Linked DNA regions of Homo sapiens: region 2 is linked to region 1. Evidence: promoter capture Hi-C in human tissues and cell types (Jung and others, 2019). All regions are on one chromosome and are shown on one strand. Each heading gives the region's core, a stretch centred on a gene start or on the middle of the fragment in contact. The rest is flanking DNA. Distances are from core to core; before and after follow the strand shown. Region 1 holds the start of MYT1L (myelin transcription factor 1 like). Region 2 has its middle 190 kb from the start of MYT1L.

Evidence for each region. The method cuts DNA at HindIII sites, captures the fragments that hold promoters and counts their contacts. A contact is called where the count stands out against the background at its distance.
Region 2: a fragment that was not itself captured here is called in contact with the fragment with the promoter of MYT1L in region 1 in 4 of the 25 tissues and cell types used here (dorsolateral prefrontal cortex, hippocampus, mesendoderm cells and 1 more).

Annotation. Positions count from the first base shown.
Region 1 is chr2:2,328,812-2,332,988 of GRCh38, reverse strand. MYT1L (myelin transcription factor 1 like) reads left to right here and starts at 1,714. Exons shown (of 25, transcript NM_001303052.2): 1 at 1,714-2,022. The HindIII fragment of the contact is 11,173 bases long and covers 1-4,177 here.
Region 2 is chr2:2,523,765-2,527,434 of GRCh38, reverse strand. No RefSeq gene overlaps it. Among named protein-coding and RNA genes, the nearest start is that of MYT1L, 190 kb to the right of the region's middle. RefSeq lists an enhancer at 1-605. The HindIII fragment of the contact is 4,219 bases long and covers 1-3,670 here.

The DNA of each region.
Region 1 (4,177 bases), core at 465-2,964:
ATAACATAGAATAAGATGTATAGGAGAAGTAGAGTAAAATGAGTTTAGAAAAATTATTCGTTCTAATTTTTCAACCATTTTTTTGAGAGGTGATAATGGTCTAATTTCCAGAATGCCTTGAAAAACCCTGGAATACTCGGCAGAGGTGCTGCAAAGTAAAGCTTATTTGAGGGCAATCTTGAAGCTATGCCTGAGAATTTTAAACAACAAAATATCCAAGATTTATTTTTTCAATTGTGTTCGATTATTTTATTAGCTAGTAGCTTTCTCTGTTTTAATTCTCTGTGTTGCATAATATCTAGGATACAGTAACAGGCTGGTTGCAAATGCTCGAAACAGAAATAGGTTTCTTCATAGGCTGTGTTTCAGCATGTCCAACTGTGAGCCTGTGAAGCAGAGCATCGGAGTTCTCTCGAGGTCTGTTGCTTCAGATTTGGTTAGAAATTATTGAATCTGGAGTGTAAAAATCTTGTCTGGGCCTTTTAGGCAGCTTGATTTTAAAACTAGCCCTTCTGCCCCAAGACTTATCAACCGCCCCCCCACCCTGTCCCAAAAGAAAAGCTGAAGTAAGTTCAGTGTTAAAATAATGGTGCTGTCAGGCAGGCAGTCTGCATGTGAGCAGCAGAAAATTAGAAGAATAGAACCATCCATTCTCGTTTCCCCCCGCGACATGCACGCACACATACGTGCACACACACACACACACCACACACACACACACAGACAACACCAGTCAGTGAAGGGGGAAAAGGGTGATACCTTTTTAAAAAATGAAAGGCAGTAAGCCATTATTAGCAAGAGCTATATTGAGCATGCTTGCCAGACAAGCAGCAAAGCTGAGCTCCAGTTCCGCCCAGACATGTGCCTTGCCATTTTCATTTTAATCAGCCTGCTCAGGATGGCTGCTGATTCATTTTGCAGGATGTCCCCCTGGGAGCCAAGGTGGAAGCCTGAGGCGAGCTGCTATTGCATCAATGCAGCACATCAGAGCGAGAGCGCGGAGGCAGAGGGAGGAGAGAAAGCCTTCAGCACCGCATCCCGATTTCAATATGGCTAGTTAGAAGGTCCTGCATGAAACCGAGTCTATTGCAGAAAACATAATGAAAGGAAAGGAAAAGAAAAAAGTCACATTGTCATTTCATTATCCAACTATTCTCTCCCCCAACCCCTTCTTGCCACCAACAGACACACACACGTACACATTTTACAGTGACCATGAAAGATTTCAAGCCACTCTGTGGAAGTGTGTGTGTGTGTGTGTGTGTGTGTGTGTGTGTGTACTATTTACCTGGTAACTAGCTGGGGTGGTATACCTGATTTAGCTGGAGACTTTGATTTGTAGGACTGACAACCTTATTATGCAGTGAGTTTATTATTGATATTATTCTGCTCTCGGTTGCCATGGCCACCTTGTGAGAGACATTCAATTTTCTCTCTTCCATCATCATTATCTATGAGGCCATCTGTTGTGGAAAATGAATTCAGCCTCATTTGCATGACTGATAAGCAATTTTTTTTTTTATCTATTTAACAGAAGGTCATATGCCGGGGATTTGGAGCTTGTGAAAAAAAAATGTGGAAAAAAAAAAAAGCCTAGGAGAGGATGAGTGGGAGCGTGTGCATGGGGGTGTGTGGAAGTCAAACAGATCCCTGAGGCCTGCGAGCCTATCGCGCTGCATTTGTCATTCCTGCCCGGGCGACATTTTTTTTTTCCCTAAGCTACTGCACACTAAACAGTGAGAGAGCTTTTCCCTGCAGTCTTGTTGAAGCACCCCGGGTTTTTTGCTCATTGTTGGTGGGTGCATTTTAATTTTTTCATTCCCTGGACTATGGGTTATGATATCCATACTCACTGAAGACAAAAAGCCACCTTTTCTGCGTCTTGGTGGCATGCATGTGTCTCATCATCCTTTCAAACTTGTGGTGGAACAGGGTTTTCTTCCCTGTCTGTGTATTTTGAGCCAGCACAGTTACCAAAATTGAACTTGTCTTTCGCTTGTGAGCGGTTGTGGTCATTGTGAGGTACGTGATGTTCGTTAGGTTAATTTTTCGGGGAACTTAGTGAGCAGGATGTGTTTTACCGTAGCTCAAGGGCTGAGGCTGCTATTCCATTGTCTGCTCCTTTTTAAAGTTATTTTTACAGCATGGCTGGTAGCTGAAATGTTCCTGGACTGGAGGCTTTGTAATCCACAAAAAAATCTGTCTTTAAACTAAAATGGGTATTAGGTTGCATGACTTAACTGTGATGTTGTTTATTAAGAAAAAAAGAAACAAAAACAAAACGGGGTGCATGTATGGTGTTTGGAGGATAAGAGGATACTGAAACAAAAACTTCCCAGAGACTTTACTGGATTACTTTACATTACAAATGAAGCACATCATTTTATGCAAAGGCAATTAAAATGTTAGCTATTTTGGATGAATTTACCTGATGGTAAGAAGAAAGTTGATTTATATTGTTTAAGTGGAGAAACTCAAATAAAGATTTTTAAATTTAACTTAAATGTTTGAAGTTCATAATAATGAAAGAAAATGTTATTTATAACAGAAATATGTCTTTTTGTAACACCTAAATTAATAAACTAAAAGATTAAACTCTACACTTTAGTTTTAAGATAGATCTGAATAAAGCAAAAATATATATGTAAATATTTATATGAAAGTTAGCTATATAAAATATAGAGAACAGATTTTGAATTTAGTATTAACCATGACAATTTCTTGTACCATCAAAGCTATATAAGCTAAATAATTTCTAAGTTACTTAGAGTAAAACTATTTTATATAAGAGCCTTTTTGTTCAAATGTTTATATTTTCTACTAAACAAAATTAACGTCATAGACCAAAGCATCCCAAAACCACCCTTACTGGCATATGAGGGTCTTTCTAATTGTTCATCTTCATTTAGTGTCATGTAGCTTTAAAAATAATAAAGTCATGTCTCCCATACAGATAAAAATGTAATTATTTTTAAAAGAAAAGAGTTTTATAAAATATTCCTTTTCAAAAAAAAAAACAGCATTGCATTCCTATAAGTTTTCACCTCTCAAGAACTTTGAATCCAAAGTGTTGATTGTAAGTTATAAATGCTACTAAGAGAAACATTCCAGAAAAAAAGGAAGTTTGTTTTTTCTGATTGACCTAAAAGAACATGTATGATTCTATCACCTCAAATGCAGTAAGTTAATTGCTTAAAAGTCTCCTTAAAGTTATACTTGAGTGATAAATTTTCTTTATTAACTAACATAGACCACTACTGATGTGTGTGTGTGATGGTACTTTACTTGATTGCACTTTGAAAACTCTTACCATACTATCATACACTTTTCATAAACAATAACAGTTGTTATATAATCCTTCTGCTTTTAATCAGCCATATTTCTTTATATTTTAGCTTGATTTTCAGAGAAATAAGTTTATTTTAAATATTAATTGTGCATTTAAAGAATTTAAAACAATAAAATTCTGATAGATTATGAAGATTATTTAAAGTGACATCAGCTTTCTCAGAGGACTATAAGAATCAGTAATATGAGATCTGGATCTATATTATAATATGAAGGATTATGTTGTTGTCTTTTGATCTGTACATATAGTCTTCAGATTCGTGAATCAAAATTATCAACATCTAAAAAAACCTATGAGATAGCACAGTTGATTTTTCTCTCCTCCCCACCCCCACCCACAAAAAGTTAATTACCAATCTTGGTTGGATTCTTCCTTGCCTCCCTGACATTTGACTGCTGCTAATTCACTGATTAATCTCATTAATGTGATTATAGTAGGATTTAGAGTTGGCTGCCATTGTTCTGTAGACAGTGCTATTCAGGCTGAGCACTTGCCACCTCATTCAGTTTTGCTGTGATTTTTCAAAGGCTGGTGGAGTGAGCTATTGTGAGCAGGCTTCTCTGCCTTCCCTTTCAGCACCAGGAGCTGTCCGCAGCTGATAGCGATTGCATTCAACAGTGACTGACTTCCTCCTAGTTTATTGGCAATGTGAAAATGGCTCACTTTCATCACCTTAATGATTGTGCTAGTTGAGGTAGAAGTAGGAGAAGCCTTCATGGTCACATTTGGATGTTTTGAAGATGGTGGCAGCAAAGATATCTATACTTGAACATTTTTATTTAGTAAAGACTTTCCATCTGCCATTATACACATATTTTACTCTATTTC
Region 2 (3,670 bases), core at 707-3,206, 190 kb before region 1:
CATGCAGTTCTGCGAACAGTAGGTGTCACGTCATTACCTCATTAGGAATGAGTGTTTCAGCTGACATGCAGGAAATGACCTCTTGCTGACTAGGGTTGGTGATGTCAGGCACTGCTGCAGCTGAGTCACCCATGATACAATGGGCTAAGTCATACACTTCATTACTAACACTTACCTTAGGAATCCTAGACATAACCTTTTCAGAGGAGCTGGGGAAGAGGGCTCGGTGAGCCAGAGGGGATCTGTCATAGAACCCTCCTCTGATCTTATAGGGAATTCTAGAAGGGGCACGAAGCTTGAGGGGAGAGGAGCTATGTTTTAATTTCTAATCAATCACTTATTATATCTCTGTCCTTGGCCAAGATTCTTACCTCTTTTGGCATTAATGTTCTCATTTGTAAAACAGAAACATGATCAGCCCTCTGCCTCCCAAAATCAAATGAGGTGATATGCATGAGAACATTTTGTATACCGCAAATGGTATTTCTGATGGCTCCAGTGTTGACAGCATTAAATACTGTGATTATTTATTTTTAATGATCTGTGCCCAGCACACAGGTAGGATGAGGAACAGGAAAATCTGGAAGGGAGACTGGCTTTGCTGTTTTGCTCAAGGCCTGCTCCATCAGGTGGGAGGATGGGCTCTGGGTGGAGAGCAGTGGAGGAGCTGGGAGGTCAGGGGAAGGCCGTGCAAGGCTGCGGAGGCTTCTCTTCTCATTTTGCAAAGGCAGGAACAGGAAGGGACAACTGAGTGGGTAGTGTATAGGAAATGAAGCACACAGAACCAAGAGCTGCCCCTGGGCCAGTGCCCACACTTAGCAAACAGGGGATAAAGACCCATCATCCAAGGAGCAAACCAGCCATTAAAAATGTAAGATGAAAATTAAGGTAGCATAAGGCCCTGAAAGCCAAAAAAGACAGGTTTTCCAGGAGGGAACACGGTAAAAAGTGATGCAGAGAAGATGTCAAGAACCAAAAGAATGAGGGCCAACAAAAGGCCTTTGATTTAGCAATAAGACATCTTTGGTGCCCTGCTAGAAGTTTACGGCAGCTCCACATGGGAGCCACAGGAGAGGGCACATTGTGAGGACACACAGCCTCCTACACCCCCAGGACTTGTCCTGATCACACGTTTGCAAAAGGTCCATCAATTGATTAATTGTTAGGAGGCTACATTTTTAAAACTTTAAAAATTTTCTCTACATCCTAGTTATATTACTAGCCTAGAAAAATTAAAACAAAAATTAATACCAATGAATCCTCATTAGGAAATTTAAAACATGAAACTACCCAGTCAGATTTTCAGGTTGCATGAAGAAGGTTTCATACCATCTGAAAAGGCTTTACCAATGGCTTAGAAAATCACTGTGCACCACCACCTGCAGTATTCTGTTACCAGGCAGGATTTGGAATTTCTCAGCAGGCGTGGCCCCTTGGTGAACCTGTGTATATCAAGCTGCCTTCTGAAGATATCTAATCTCGAGAGGTCTAATAGATGCTGTCATGGACTAATGAGAAGGTTAATATGTAAAAGTCATTAATAGAAGAACCCTCTTTAATTACAAACTGAAACAGTAAAGCAAAACCAAAATGTCCAGAACAATATTTAGGAGCATGTGTTTCGACTTGGGTTGTGATAAAAATCACTTCTGCCCCCAGTACCATGGTGAGATGCAAAATGGTACTGCATGTCTGGATGCTGGTTTCAGATACCCTCCTCCTTCCTTACAGAAACTGTTTTTGGGAAGGTTGAGCTCTGAGTCATGCATAGGAGTATGGATTCGCTTTCCTGGGTTCACTTCTAGCCAGTAGTCTCTGTGTTTTAAAAATTTAATTCTAATGGATGAATGAAAATTAATTTTAATTAGGGAAGCTGATGGGGAAGGTTTTGGCAGGAGTAGAGCTCTGCTTGAATTCAGAAAATCAATCCAAACAGAGCAGCTTCCGTCGCCCCTGGAACTAGGCTCTGTCCTACATAACCAGGTCAGCAATGGGCCGTCTTCTTATCTGTTATGAGACTGCGGAATTTGGGGCGAGCAGCACACGTTTCCTATTGCTGCATCAGTGTCACACTATACACACACCTTCACCTTTGTGTTCTCCAAAAGGGAAATCCCTGTCCCATGGGTCAATGTCACTAGACTGTGAGTGGTGGGTCCTGGGGTTTCTTTCCTGGCCTGACACCCTGGCTGGGCTGGGGTGCCAAGGAACACGGGAGTGTTGAGGTGAAACACCTTAGCTGCCAACCCTCTAGTGTGTGACAAGGGGAACCATGGAATTTCTCTGGGTTTTTTTTCTCATGTCCAAAATGGGGCAAACGATGTCTTTGCAAATCTGATTCACAACATGGTGGTAGGATACAGAGGGCTGATGGCACCAGCATGCTCCAGGAAGGCACCCAATGTGTTAAGGTTGCAAAGCTACGGATGAAGCACTTCCTTCTGCAAGCTTAAGCTCTCTAAATCCTCCTTTCCTTATGCCTTCTCACCCTTCACATCACAGAGGAGTTAGAGGTGAGAGGAAAATGAGACCCAGCAGGAGCAGGGAGACCGCAACTAGAGACAGGACATGGAGTGGCCCTGAAGAAGGTGCCTGTGACGGCCTTCTCTGGTCTGGTGACACACGGCCGTGAGGGCCACAAGACACAATGGTTGCCCAGTTCCAATGGACTCACAGAGCTGCAGCTGCCGTGGGGCCTCCCTCCGTTCCATCATTGGCTCTTTGCCAATGATGTGTCTGGTTCTCTCCATGTGTCTGGTTCTCTCAGAGAAGAGAAGCATTTAAGCACATTCTGATCCTACCCATTGATGCTGCTCCCAGCTCAGGTACAGCCTTTTCCCTTTAGTTAAAGCCCACGATGCCATATCCAAGGTGCACTGTTCAGCCAGAGGCCGGGGTGTGCCAGTGTCCCTGCATTCAGAGACCGTCCGTGGGGCTGAGACGGAGCAGCTTCAAGATGTGTTCCCTCCCACACTTTCTCATTTCAGGATCCCAGGCAATCAGTGTGGGGTGACAAATGGCAGTGGCTTTACTGCTGTTGGTGTTCTGAGATCCGAATGAGGTTGCAGCCAGAAGCCCAAGGATGAAGTATGGCATTAAAATAATCAAGATTAAAAATATGTACCCTCCCAAGTCAGCAGAGCAGAGCTAACAACCCCATATAAAGAAGCTTTGCGTGGGATGATCCTGTGTCTGGGAGGCAGGAGCAGAGATGCAGCAGCTATAAATCTCCCTCCTGCACCCACTGCAGAGCCAGGGCCAGGAGGGATGCAGAGAGCAGAGCTGTGAGAGTGCTTGCAGTGGGAGCAGGGAAGGCATGTGTGTGCATGTGTGTGCCTGTGTGTGCATGTGTGCATGTGTGTGTGTGAGACAGAGAAAGAGAAAGAGAGACAGACTCCAGGAGGGATAGGGAGAGTATGCAAGGTAGGTGCAGCCTGACCTGACAGGGAATGCCAGTACTCATTTTTCTCTTATGTAACCTGGAATGGCAGCCCTGCTTTCCTGACTTCAGCCTGTGCATTTATCTTTTAAAATTGCATTTTGCCATAAATCAAGATTCCACAGCATGGTCTTTTTTTCTTCATGTCTGCAACCCCTAGAAAATCTCCCTCCTCCCCTTTCCCTCTCTCTGTCGTCTGCACCTCCCTACTCCCTTCCACGCTCAGTTCAT